Linked DNA regions of Homo sapiens: all the other regions are linked to region 1. The links are contacts of gene promoters, found by promoter capture Hi-C in human tissues and cell types (Jung and others, 2019). All regions are on one chromosome and are shown on one strand. Each heading gives the region's core, a stretch centred on a gene start or on the middle of the fragment in contact. The rest is flanking DNA. Distances are from core to core; before and after follow the strand shown.

Region 1 (4,081 bases), core at 1,106-3,605:
TGGCCAGACTGGTCTCGAACTCCTGATCTCATGATTCACCCGCCTCGGCCTCCCAAAGTGCTGGGATTACAGGCATAAGACACCGCGCCTGGCCAAGATTTTCTAATTAGTGCATTTCCTGGCTCCTTTCCCTTTACTCTGCATTTCTTTTCTCTACCATACACGTTCTACTTCTGTCGAAATTCAGTTTGCTTTTACCTTAGTGTATTTTCAGATTCTGTTTCGAAGGCCAACTGCCTGCTTACTCATATTAATATTTTGCACTTTAAATTCCCCTGATAGATGAGCATGGTGGTGCAGGCCTGTAATCTCAGCTCCTCAGGCGGGAGGATCACTTGATCCCCGGAAGTTTGAAGCTGGACTGCGCTGACCGCACCTGTGAATACCACTGCCCGTCAATCAGCCTAGGGGAAACATTCTCGAGTGCGAGCATGACGGCTTAGGTTGATGTTTTTCAAATTTTCCCAATGATGAGTATTGTAAGGGACCAAAATAAAAAAATGCCAATGCCTAGTCCCCTCTCATCTAGAATAATTCCATAGGTGATGATGGGGTCCAGGACTCTGAATTTCGTCAATTTTACCAAATACTTCGTCCAGTGAGGCAAATATGGAAACACTTGGATCACCTCTTCGTGAACGCACATCAGCGCATACGCCGGCTGTTTTTATCAGGCGCTCACCCCTCATCCAATGGCGTGACTAGTTGTGGGTGGAGCCCGAAATCTGGCTGCCTAGAGAAGGCTGAAGGTCCAGTTATAGCATAACTAATGTTTCCCCAGAGCTCACATACGTGCCAAGCACCGTGCTACAGCCTCCACAGCCCCTTCATTTAATCTTCCCGATGGGCCTATGAAATAGGTGCTCCTGGCCCGCACCGTGGCTCATGCCTCTAATCCCAGCACTTTGGGAAGCTGAGGAGGGAGGGTCGCTTGAGTCCAGGATTTCAAGACCAGCCTGGGAAACACACAGAGAGCCTATCTCTACGAAAATTTAAAAAATTAGCCGGGTGTGGTGATGCCTGACTGTGGTCCCACCTACTTAGTAGGCTAAGGTGGGAGGATCCTCTGAGCCCGGGAAGCTGAGGCTGCAGTTAGCACTGCACTCCAGCATGGGCGACAGAGTGAGACCCTGACTCAAAAAAAAAAAAAAAAAAGAATAGGTGCTACTTGTAGTTCCCATTTTACCCACCAAGAAACTGAAGATCTGAGAGACAAAGCCTACAGGGTGACCGCTAGTCACTGGTAGGGCTGGGATTTGAACAGGGGCGGTTTAACAACTGATCTCTCGACCATAATGCGTGTTGCCCAAGAAAAAAGACCGTCCTCACGGTCCTATCCACTCCGGACTTTGCAATTCCGTTATTTCGTAAATTGAGGCCTATAAATAGTTTGCTTACCCGTTGTCTTAGTCCCCAGTAACATGCAGAACTAAAGAAGAAACTGAAGGAGCACCGATTTTGTTCACCTTGCTTTTTGGTTTAGTTCTGGAGGAGAACACAGGTGCACTTAGAACAGGATCCACACTTACCAGAGGCTTGATTCATTTTAGCTGCAAAGAAAACCAGTCCTCGTCTACCTTTTTCGCGTGTTGGAGAACTAACTAGCAAGGCAGGGAATGCGGTTCGTGGGCGCTTGGCCTCCTCAAGCGGCTCAGGCTCTCAGAGCGCGAGGCCCAGGGGCTCTGGAGCCGCGGCCGCGACGCGCCCGAGGGCCGTTCTCTTCGACGGCAGAGCAAGAGTCACCGCGCGGGAGCCCCGAGCGACCGCCCCGCTGCCCCGGTACCCTCCCCTCGCAGCCGCCCAGAGCTCTTCATGCCCCGTGACGCCCGTTAGGGCAGCGCGGCCGGAGGCCGGGCCGGACGTGGCCCGAGATGTCCGGGGGCAGGCAGAAGACCACGGGCACGCGACAGGCAACCGCCGCCTCGGCTCTAGAGGTGGACGTTTTGTCTCCCTGCGCTTCAATACCAGATTTTGTTTCCAGACGACATCCCTGTTGCTTCCGGCACTTGGAAAGACCAATCGTCAGGCCCGAGAATGCAAGACCCACCCTCCTTTGCGACGGAGGCAGCCAATCCAGTTGCTCGCTACTTCCAGTGTCGCATGCGCCCTTACGCAGGACCCTGCCCAATCGTTACCGGGACGTCCTCCTAGTCCCGCCTCCGGACCGCCAGAGAGGCTGTCAATCCCGCCTCTCTCCTTCACTCCATTAGCGCACTAACTCACGGCGCTGTGACGTGCACAGCCCCTGCGGCCGGCCGGGGCGGGCCAATGGCGGTGGCGGATACGGCGGGCCAATGGGCGGGAGCGTCTCATGCGGCCGGCTCCCGCCGCAGCCGCCGCTGGGTCCTGGAGCCAGAGGCCGCCCTGAGACGGTGCGCGATGGACCGAGGGCCCCAGCCGGGGAGGCGCCGCCGCCGAGCCCGCGGCCAGACGCCCCATCAGTAGCGTCCGCACCGGGAGCCGCGGCTCTCGCCCGAGCCGTGGGCGCGCCCGAGGGGCGGGCTCGCCTCCCGCCGTCCCTCGCAGCTCTGCCGGGCCCGAGCCCGCGCCGCCGCCGCCGCCGCCTTGCCGCTCGGGCCGCGCGGCCCGGGAAACGCGGCCGCGGGCTGCATGGGCAGCGCCCGCGCCCCGCCGCTGAGCCGTCGCGGAGCCGCGCAGCCCTCGGAGCACGGTGAGAGGCGCCGCTGGTCTGGGGGCGGTGGTCGGGGCGGGCACGGGGCATTCGCGCGGCCTTGCGGCCTGCAGGCCTTCCCCGGCGACGGAGCTGCGCCGCGGGCCTCCGGGCGGGCCTGGGGGGTCGGGGCCGGGTGGGCGGGGGTCTTTGGGGGCCCGGGGCGATCGTGAGGGACCAATAATGGGTCCCGGAGCGGGCCTACGGGTCCGGGTTCGGGGCAGCCGGGGGTCTTTGGGGGCCCGGGGTGGCCGTGAGGGGCCCATAGGGGGCTCCGGGGGGGGCCTGGGAGGTCGGCGGAGCTTGGGTCGGCCGTAAGGGGCGGACGGGGGCTCCGGGCGGGCCTGGGTGGCCGGGGGCCCGCGGCGGCTCTGAGGGGCCGATTGGGGGCTCCGGGGCGGGCCTGGGGGCCGTGGGGGCCCGGGGCGGCCGTGAGAGGCGGACAGGGGGCTCCGGGGCGGGCCTCGGGGGCTCGGAGCGGCCGTGAGGGGCGGACGGGGGGCTTCGGGGCGGGCCTGCAGGTCTTGGGGACCTGAGGCTGCCGGGAGGGGCTGCCAGGGGGCGCTGGCCGGGCGCCGGGTTCTGCGGAGCTGGGGCGCCGACCTCTGACCCGCGAGAGGGGCGCCTTCGCCGTGCTGGTCGTAGTTGTTATTCTCAGCGTCCCTATTATTATCGCTGTTTTGAAATGAGAGCAGGCGGCTCTCGGGCTCCGAGCCGGAGGGGGAGGGCGAACTGGGGACCTGGGGGCGTCGGGGTTGCAGGAGGCGCGCGTAGGCCGAGGAGGGGCAGGAATGCGGGCAGCCGTGTGGGGGGTGTTAGGGGGAGGGTAGGCGGGCGGGTGTGGGGGGTGGCTGGGAGGAAAGCGGTGGCGGTGGCGGCTGCAACAGCAGCCCTTGGCCTCAAGGAACAATGTGAGACGTTGCCTGAAATGTTAATTTCCGTTCCTCATTTCATCATCCCCTGGCAGGGCGGTAGCTGTGTGTGTGGTGTATGTGTGTGCGCGCGCGCGCGCGCGCGCGTGTGTGTGTGTGTGTAGGGTTGGCCCTGCCACATTGATTCAGTCCCCTCTCAAAGAGGGATTGTACTGTTAACTCTTGTGTTTGTGTTATTTGGGAAGGTTGGTCGGGGGGAGTCTTGATTTTTCTCGAGGCTTGCTCTTTTCCTGGTGCCCCATTAAGATTTTCTGCTTCTGTTGTGTTTTTGGAAGGTTAGTGTTATATATCAGCTTCCAAGAAGTTTTGGAAGAGGCTTGGGAAGATGAAGCTGGTCTAACAGCTCCCTATGCTTTGAAACTGTTTTCCTTCTATGTAACATGCTTAGGATTCATCGTTTTTGTAGATTATGAGTAGTTTTGTATCCTTTTGCAAGAACAGGGTTTTATGGTAGAGAAATTAGATTTCAGGCTTTCTT
Region 2 (4,081 bases), core at 891-3,390, 110 kb after region 1:
TATTTTTTAATTTTCAGTAGAAATAGGGTTTCGCCATGTTGGCCGGGCTGGTCTCAAACTCCTGATCTCAAATGATCCACCTGCCTCGGCCTCCCAAAGTGCTGGGATGACAGGCCTGAGCCACCTCGCCCAGCCGCCCTTCTCATCCCTTTTTGGATCGATTGTTTACCGTGTGCTCAGGGGCTTCACTCGGAGCCCCTTAGAACCTTGCCCAGCAGAGTGGGCCCACACTGGGAAGCAGGGATGCGTGCTCCGTCTGCCTGCCTCAGCTGTCCTCTGCCCACGACCTCTGAGCTGCATTGCCCCGTGTAGGCCTGGTCACCTTTGGGGCCGGAACTGCACACACTCCTTCCTCCCATAAGCCCCAGTGCTCGTGGTGGTTACGCAGCCCTGCTGCCCGTGCAGGAGATGCCCCACGAGGCCTCCAGCTTCTTCTCTGCCTTTGCTCACTTCTCTTCCCTGGAAAGCAGGCAGGTACTCGTCAGGCTTTCCTTCATTTATTTCTAGAGTTTCTGCAGATCTAGAAGCCTGTCTCCTATTGGTTATTGTCTTTTAACAAAGACCTGTTTGGCATTACACAAAAAATGCTTTCACAAGTCCCAAGGCAGCGGGCAGGTCCTGGGGCTGCTCTTCGTGCCCTGTGTCCCGTTTCTTATGCAGGTGGAGACTGCTGGTCGTTCTCTGGAGTAGCCCCAAGGAAGCTATCTGAAGGCTCAGGGAGCTCTAATCCACTTAGGAGAAAAGGAGTTAAAATGGCATCATTGGGCTGGGCACAGTGGCTCACACCTGTAATCCCAGCACTTTGGGAGGCCGAGGTGGGTGGATCACCTGAGGTCAGGAGTTTGAGACCAGCTTGGCCAACATGGAGAAACCCCATCTCTACTAAAAATACAGAATTAGCCAGGCGTCGTGGCACATGCCTGTAATACCAACTACTCGGGGGGCAGAGACAGGAGAATTGCTTGAACCTGTGAAGTGGGTGTTGAAGTGAGCCGAGATCACGCCATCGCTCTCCAGCCTGGGTGACAGAATGAGACTCTGTCTCAAAAAGAAAAAAACAGGCATCATTGTTTTGCAACTGGGGTACCAGAAATAACATCTTTCCATAGTGAATTTCTGGTGGCAGAGGAGCTTCATATATACCCATTGATACTTGGACCTGGACTGAAGCTTGAGGGGTTTGGAGATGCAGAAAATAGTGTTTGGTAAATAGAGATGAAAGTGTGTGTTTTGAGAAATGATGATTGGAAAACTGAAAAGGTCAGTGTCTGCAGCCATGTATTTCTTTCTAAATTTTTTATTTTTCTGCATTTTCAAAAATTATATTTTTTGGGAAATTATTATGTATACTCTTCTTGCTGAACAGAATGTTAAAAATACAGCTGACATCTTCTTTGCCCGTTGTACTCAGTCCAAGTTCTTTGTGAATCACAAGAACCAACACGTTCTTCGCAAATCCGTGCACTGCACGGAGCTCTTCCGTGCTGCTTGGGGCGCTCGCGTCCCAGTCACCTGGAGGTGGGAGGCAGAGAGCAGTGGTGGAGCAGAAAACTGTAAGCTCAAGTTGGAGCCAGGAGGCTGAGGCAGAAGTGTCACTTGAGCCCAGGAGGTTGAGGCTGCAGTGAGCCGTGACTGAGCTCTGTCTGGGCGACAGAGCAAGACTTTGTCTCTTTAAAAAAATGTTCAAGTTGGACTCCTGGAAAGCAGAGTTACATGAGCTGGTTTTGGATGCCCTGACAGGGTGTGGAGCAGGAGGCCCCTGTGGGCCTGTTCCCCATGGTCAGCTTTCGACATATAATGAAAGCCCCGTTCACTGGTAACACTTGATTTGAGCCATTTAAAATTATTTTATAAAATTGTTGTTCCACTTAGGAACTGGCACAAGGTCTTTGTGAGAAAGCCCTAAGTTTTCAAGATAGGATTAAAAAAGCATGAGCCTGTGACGCACATACAGACGGTGTGCACCCCTTCTAGCCCGCCGGCTGCCAGCAGCTCCCAGAATGGCCGTGTGCCGGGGCAGGCATGGGGGCCGGCCCCACCTTCTAGAAGCCAGTGAGAAAGGCCTTCCTGGGGCTGGTCCGCACTGCCGACGTTCTGGGCATGGACGACCCTAAGTTTTCAGTTCTAAGCGACAGTGAATGCCTCAGCCCGGCTTGTCTACGACTGCAGGAGGCGTCTTGACGCTCCCCAGTGTGCCGTCAGAACCTTGACCCAAAAAGGTCTTCAGCCTTGGAAAGCCCTTCCCACCTCGCCCCACCCACCAACCCCTGAAGAGGTTTTCAGCCTTGGAAAGCCCTTCCCCACCTCGCCCCACCCATCAACCCCTTAAAACATGGATAAAAGAGTTTTAAACCACAGCGCCTGAAGTTTGAGACCAGCCTGGCCAACATGATGAAACCCCGTCTCTACTAAAATACACAGACAAAAAATTAGCCAGGCATGGTGGCACACACCTGTAATCCCAGCTACTCGGGAGGCTGAGACAGGAGAATTGCTTGAACCCAGGAGGCAGAAATCTTTGTGTACACCAGTGTCTTCAAACAAGAGAAGCTACTTGAGCACTTGCTAGTCATGCTGGCCAGTTGTGTGTTCTCAGCCAGACTATTTCCAGCCTGCTGTATCTGTAGCCTTATAGCACGTACATTTAGCTTAATATCTTTAAAGCTCTACGTTTTTGCTATTTTCTGAGGAGGTTTTTGTGGTTAGGCTTCAATGCCATGATTTGAAATTATTATCAAGAATTACAAATCAATATTGACCTAATCAATATGGTTGACATACACGTTGATGAAATCATTATATATGTTTGGTCCTTGAACAACTTGGGGATTAGTGGCACTGACCCCTGGTACAGTCAAGTCCACATATAACCTTTTATACCCCGAGTATTTAATTTTGTTGACCAGTGCCTTCCTGATCACATAAACAGTCAACACATTTTAATCCAACACTGACATATACAAAGCACTTTTTTTCCCGCTTCTTAAAGAGACAGAGTCTCGCTTGCCATGTTGCCCAGGCTGGTCTCAAACTGCTGGGCTCAAGTGATCCTTCCGCCTCGGCCTCCCAGTGCACTGGGATTATAAGTGTGAGCCACCATGCCCCTCATATTTTATATGTCGTATGTATTGTATACTGTATTCTTACAGTAAAGTAAGCTAGAGAAAAGAAGGTGTTGTTAAGAAAATCATAAGGAAGAGAAAATATGTTTACTTCTCATTAAGTGGAAGTGGGTCATCATGAAGGTCTTCATCCTCATCATTTCATTGAGTAGAAGGAGGAGGGGTGGTCATGCTGTTCTCATGGGGCGGGGGTGGAAGAGGTAGAAGGGGAGGCAGGAGAGGCAGGCGCATTTGGTGTAACTTACGAAGTGCTTTGTCATTTCTCTAGAAATGTTCCTGTATGGTCACAGTCCTCCCTCACTGTTGGCTTTAGTTTCAGTGCCCATGTCACAGACAGGTGTGTGTTGTACAAGAAGTTAAAAGCGGGTGGGAGTCGTGGGAACCCCTCCCCTCTGCAGGAGTGTCTGATGTCACTTTGTTTTCTGTCACTGCTGCTACCTCCTCCTCGTCACCTGGTGTGGGTCAGAAGCACTCATCACCACCAGGTTGTCTTCTAATTTCTCTGGTGTGGTATCTCTTAGCTCTTGAGTTTTGAAATGAAACCCTTCATCCCTCCCCGCCCCCCAGCCCTCCTGCCCCGGCCCACATGTCCGCAGTCTCTTCATGATCTCCTTGATTGGCTGTTGTAAACCCTGTGGAATCACACACAACCTCCAGACATAGTTTTCTCCAGCAGGAGTTCATTGTTTTGGGTTTGACAGCTTTCATGGCTTTCTCTATAACAATGATGGCATCTTTCATGGTGTCATCTTCCAGACACTCATGATGCTCTCTCTCTCTCTCTCCCATGTTGACAGTCCTTTCCATAGCATGCTGTGTGTAATGAGCCTTACAGGTCCTATGACCCCGATCTAGAGGCTGAATTAGATACGCTGTGTTTGGGGACAGGAAGACCACGTTGACGCCTCTGCTGTTGAACTCACGGGGTTCTGGGGGACCAAGGGCATTGTTCATTGTCA
Region 3 (4,081 bases), core at 1,062-3,561, 80 kb after region 1:
GTTCATGTGAAAATGGGCACTTGTGGCTGAGCGGCGCCCCCTCCTACTCCCTCCCCCTCCAGGCTCTGGTTGATGGGCAGAGAGTCCCAGGGCCTGGGGGAGGGTTTGGAACATTGGAGCTCCCCATTGGGAGCTCTGGCTGTCAGCTGTTTTCCCTCATGTGTGCTTTTAGCTGGAATCCGGCTCTGAGTGCTGGGACCTCTGCTGACCTGTGACCTCTGCTGTCCTCTGTCCTCTGCTGACCTGGGAGGCATGGAGAGGTCCTGCTGGGGGACTGAGAATGGCTTTTTGTTTGTAGGTTATAATATTGCGGTTACTGTATTTCTTTTGTTAACTACAGTGATTCTCATGGGGCCAGTGTTTTATTTTTTTAATACCATCATTTTTTACAGCTGGCTTAAGGGAATTTTTTCCTCTATGTTTTTGTATCTGAGGGTGAAAAACATTTTGCCTGGATCTAGCAAAAGAGTACTCAGTAAGTTCTATTTAAATTGAAGTGAACTTTATGGATGCAAAAACACCAATGTACCTTTTTCCTGTCCTGCTTGTTTCTTCCCAGATGTAATTGGGTTCCTGTAGCAAATGGGGTAAGGGCTCTGCGTGTCTTAATACATCATTGCCACCAGAAGGCCCATTTACAACTTGCTTAGATTTTGTTGAGAAGAAGAGGAAGGTAGGAGGAAGGAGATGGAGGGTCCGGTGTGGCCTGAGCACCCCAGTACCTGGCTGAGGGGAGGGATGGGGCACGGCCAGGAGACTCTGGGAGGCATCTCAGCCCAGTACCTGGCTGAGGGGAGGGATGGGGCACGGCCAGGAGACTCTGGGAGGCATCTCAGCCCAGTACCTGGCTGAGGGGAGGGATGGGGCACGGCCAGGAGACTCTGGGAGGCATCTCAGCCCAGTACCTGGCTGAGGGGAGGGATGGGGCACGGCCAGGAGACTCTGGGAGGCATCTCAGCCCAGTACCTGGCTGAGGGGAGGGATGGGGCACGGCCAGGAGACTCTGGGAGGCATCTCAGCCCAGTAGCTGGCTGAGGGGAGGGATGGGGCACGGCCAGGAGACTCTGGGAGACATCTCAGCCCAGTACCTGGCTGAGGGGAGGGATGGGGCACGGCCAGGAGACTCTGGGAGGCATCTCAGCCCAGTACCTGGCTGAGGGGAGGGATGGGGCACGGCCAGGAGACTCTGGGAGGCATCTCACCCCAGTACCTGGCTGAGGGGAGGGATGGAACATGGCCAGGAGACTCTGGGAGGCATCTTCGTTACTGGCCATTGGATTCCTCAAGTTCTGCTGAGAATTCTAGTCTCTTTTTTTCCCCACTCTAGAATAAGGATCTTAATTATTTATTTGTGTTGTCCATTGGGAAAAATGATTTGGGATGTGCTTACTGTCAACAAGGGGATAGTGGTGGGTTCCGAATGTAAACTGGCCGTAATCCCAGCACTCTGGGAGGCTGAGGTGGGAGGATTGCCTGAGGTCAGGAGTTCGAGACCAGCCTGGGCAACGTGGCAAGACCCCATCTCTCCAAAAAATACAAAAATTAGCCAGGCGTGGTTGTGTGTGCCTGTCGTCATGGTTACTCAGGAGGTTGAGGTAGGAGGATCTCTTGAGCTCGGGAGGCAGAGGTTGTAGTGAGCTATGATCACACCACTGCACTCCAGCTCTAGGTGACAGAAGGATTACAAGAAAAAGAAAAAAGGAAGAAATGTAGACCATCTCGACAGCAAGATGTGTAGCGTCTGGCCCAGCCAGGGCAGCCTGCTCCTCTTCCGGTGCAGTCAAGGTTTCCCACCGCTGTGTGCAGGGATTCTGAAGGCAGTGCTGGCTGCTGGCACAGGGCTGCAAGTTTGAAAGAGAAGTAGAGCAAAAAGGTCCCTGGGCCCCCGTGGTGGCACCAGCACACACGAGAGGGGATGTGGTGGAGGGCACCGTCATGGAGGCGTGGCCCTGGGTGTGGACAGCCAGCGTGGGCCCGAGCCCCTGTGCTGCTGCCTTCTGCCCTGGCCACCCTTCTCTCTGCAGGCAGCTTCAGGAACCTGCCTCCTGCACTGGCCGCCCCTCCCTCTGCAGGCAGCTTCAGGATCCTGCCTCCTGCCCTGGCCACCCTTCTCTCTGCAGGCAGCTTTCAGGAAAGCGCCTGTGGAGGCCGGGCAGCCTGAACATGTTGACTTTGGCAGCAGGAGCTGCCCAGCTCTGCTTATTCTGTGGCCCAGTACATAAGGCTCTGTGTAGAACACGTGTTCACGCACATGTGGTTTCTGTCTTGCCCTGGCCACAGTTGGCCACTCCCCACCCCCTTCTGTTAAGCTTCCCATGGGCTTAGAGGGCTCTCTGCCTGGGCATGGGAAAATAAGGGAAATGAGAAGCGAGGGTTCTTTGTAAATCCAAGGATGCTTTCATAGCTTTTGGTATCGTTGACGTTTTGCTAAATGGATGATTTATTTATTAGGAAAAATAAAACTGGGATTCTTGTTCATATCTGATGGTGTCAGCACGTCAGCAGGATAGCAACTGCTTTAGGGACCTGCTTGTGTCTGGAGGGCAGAACCAGAGCAGTAAGCAGAGGGCAGAGGGTGGCCTTTGTAGCCCGGGGGCAGGTGTTTCCCTTCCGTGGCTCTGCGTGGTTCCTGACAGCCTCAGCTCTGCAGGGTGTCTTAGTCTGGTCTGAGGGCTAAGACCATCACTCCCAACACCAGTGTCCATGAGTCTTTTTCTGTTTATTATCTCCATTTCCTTGGTACAGTCAGCCTTTGTTTAAAATTTATTCTTGCTTGTTTTTTGTTAGTGGGAAAAGTTTCTAAATATCAAATCCTGGTGGCTTACTAACTACAGCTTTTGGGGATGGGCTTGGTGATGATGTTATGAGGCTTTAGGTGACACTCAAAGGGCCGTACCCACCGGGTTGGCATCTGTGAGGTGCCTGCTCCGTGTGAAATTCTGCCCTGTAGCTGAACAGCAAACTGTGTTTTAAATTTAGATTGAGGCTGGACGCGGTGGCTCACGCCTGTAATCCCAGCACTTTGGGAGGCCGAGGCGGGCGGATCACGAGGTCAGGAGATCGAGACCATCCTGGCTCACACCGTGAAAACCCGTCTCTACTAAAAATACAAAAAATTAGCCGGGCGTGGTGGCGGGCGCCTGTAGTCCCAGCTACTCAGGAGGCTGAGGCAGGAGAATGGCGTGAACCCGGGAGGCGGAGCTTGCAGTGAGTTGAGATTGTGCCACTACACTCCAGCCTGGGCGACAGAGCGAGACTCCCATCTCAAAAAATAAATAAATAAATAAATAAATTTAGATTGAAATTGAGAAGTGAGCAGAAAGATGCCAGTTTAGATGTGATCAGATTTTGTTAAAGAAATCCTATAAAATGCCAGGATATTTTGGCCTAGTAATACTGTATTCTAAACTTCAGTGTTGTAATGGAAACTTTTAGTAACACGACAACCAGTTTTCGTGTGTGTGTGTGTTTTGGTACAACAGGATCTTGCTATGTTGCTCAGACTGGCCTGGAACTCCTGGCCTTAAGCAGTCCTTCCTCCTCTGCCTCCCAACGCTGTGTGATTACAGGCGTGAGTCGCAGCACCCAGCCTTTCCTGCTCTTGTGAAAAGCTAGCTGTCTTGCTCATCTCCCTCACACCTGTATGTTTTTATGCTGTGGGCAGGGCCGTGACGTGCACAAGACGACCCACAGGAAACCCTGGCTGCAACCCACGGAGGAAGAATGGCCTGAGGATGGGGACCGCCTTCCCACCCCACCCCTGTTGATAGGTGGATCTTGAACAGAGTTGTGTTGGTGGCTAGGAGTGCTAGAACCTGTGGGGGTTTGAGCTTTCTTGTAGCCTAGTGATTTATTCTAACACCAGGACTTGGTCTGAGTCCTGTGGAGGCGGGTGGAATTGCTGAGGGAAGCTGTCATCAGGTGTGTGAGCTCATCTCATTTCCTCAGACCGTCGGCTTCACCTAAAAAATCTGTTTTCTGCTCTTTGAGGGGCCTGATACCTGGCCCCAGGGCTCACTGGCCTGGGCCCCCAGCTTCCCTTGGCTGCTCTGGCCTTTTGTGCAGGTGGCTTTTCTGAATT

What was found. Contacts are between HindIII fragments. The study calls those that stand out against the background at their distance.
Region 2: a fragment that was not itself captured here is called in contact with the fragment with the promoter of ANKRD11 in region 1 in 2 of the 25 tissues and cell types used here (adrenal gland and dorsolateral prefrontal cortex).
Region 3: a fragment that was not itself captured here is called in contact with the fragment with the promoter of ANKRD11 in region 1 in 10 of the 25 tissues and cell types used here (IMR-90 fibroblasts, adrenal gland, dorsolateral prefrontal cortex and 7 more).

Annotation. Positions count from the first base shown.
Region 1 is chr16:89,488,835-89,492,915 of GRCh38, reverse strand. ANKRD11 (ankyrin repeat domain containing 11) reads left to right here and starts at 2,355. Exons shown (of 13, transcript NM_013275.6): 1 at 2,355-2,671. LOC101930112 (a long non-coding RNA gene) reads right to left here and starts at 1,946. Exons shown (of 2, transcript XR_933895.4): 1 at 1,530-1,946. LOC101927863 (a long non-coding RNA gene) reads left to right here. Exons shown (of 5, transcript NR_188547.1): 5 at 283-513. RefSeq lists silencers at 1,636-1,685, 1,806-1,895, 2,096-2,575, 3,150-3,199, 3,280-3,389 and 1 more and enhancers at 2,781-3,295, 3,296-3,809. The HindIII fragment of the contact is 15,043 bases long and covers 1-4,081 here.
Region 2 is chr16:89,377,095-89,381,175 of GRCh38, reverse strand. All of the region lies in intron 2 of ANKRD11 (ankyrin repeat domain containing 11), which reads left to right. All of the region lies in intron 1 of LOC128462377, which reads left to right. Among named protein-coding and RNA genes, the nearest start is that of ANKRD11, 110 kb to the left of the region's middle. The HindIII fragment of the contact is 8,223 bases long and covers 1-4,081 here.
Region 3 is chr16:89,409,042-89,413,122 of GRCh38, reverse strand. All of the region lies in intron 2 of ANKRD11 (ankyrin repeat domain containing 11), which reads left to right. All of the region lies in intron 1 of LOC128462377, which reads left to right. Among named protein-coding and RNA genes, the nearest start is that of ANKRD11, 79 kb to the left of the region's middle. RefSeq lists an enhancer at 1,764-2,033. The HindIII fragment of the contact is 9,369 bases long and covers 1-4,081 here.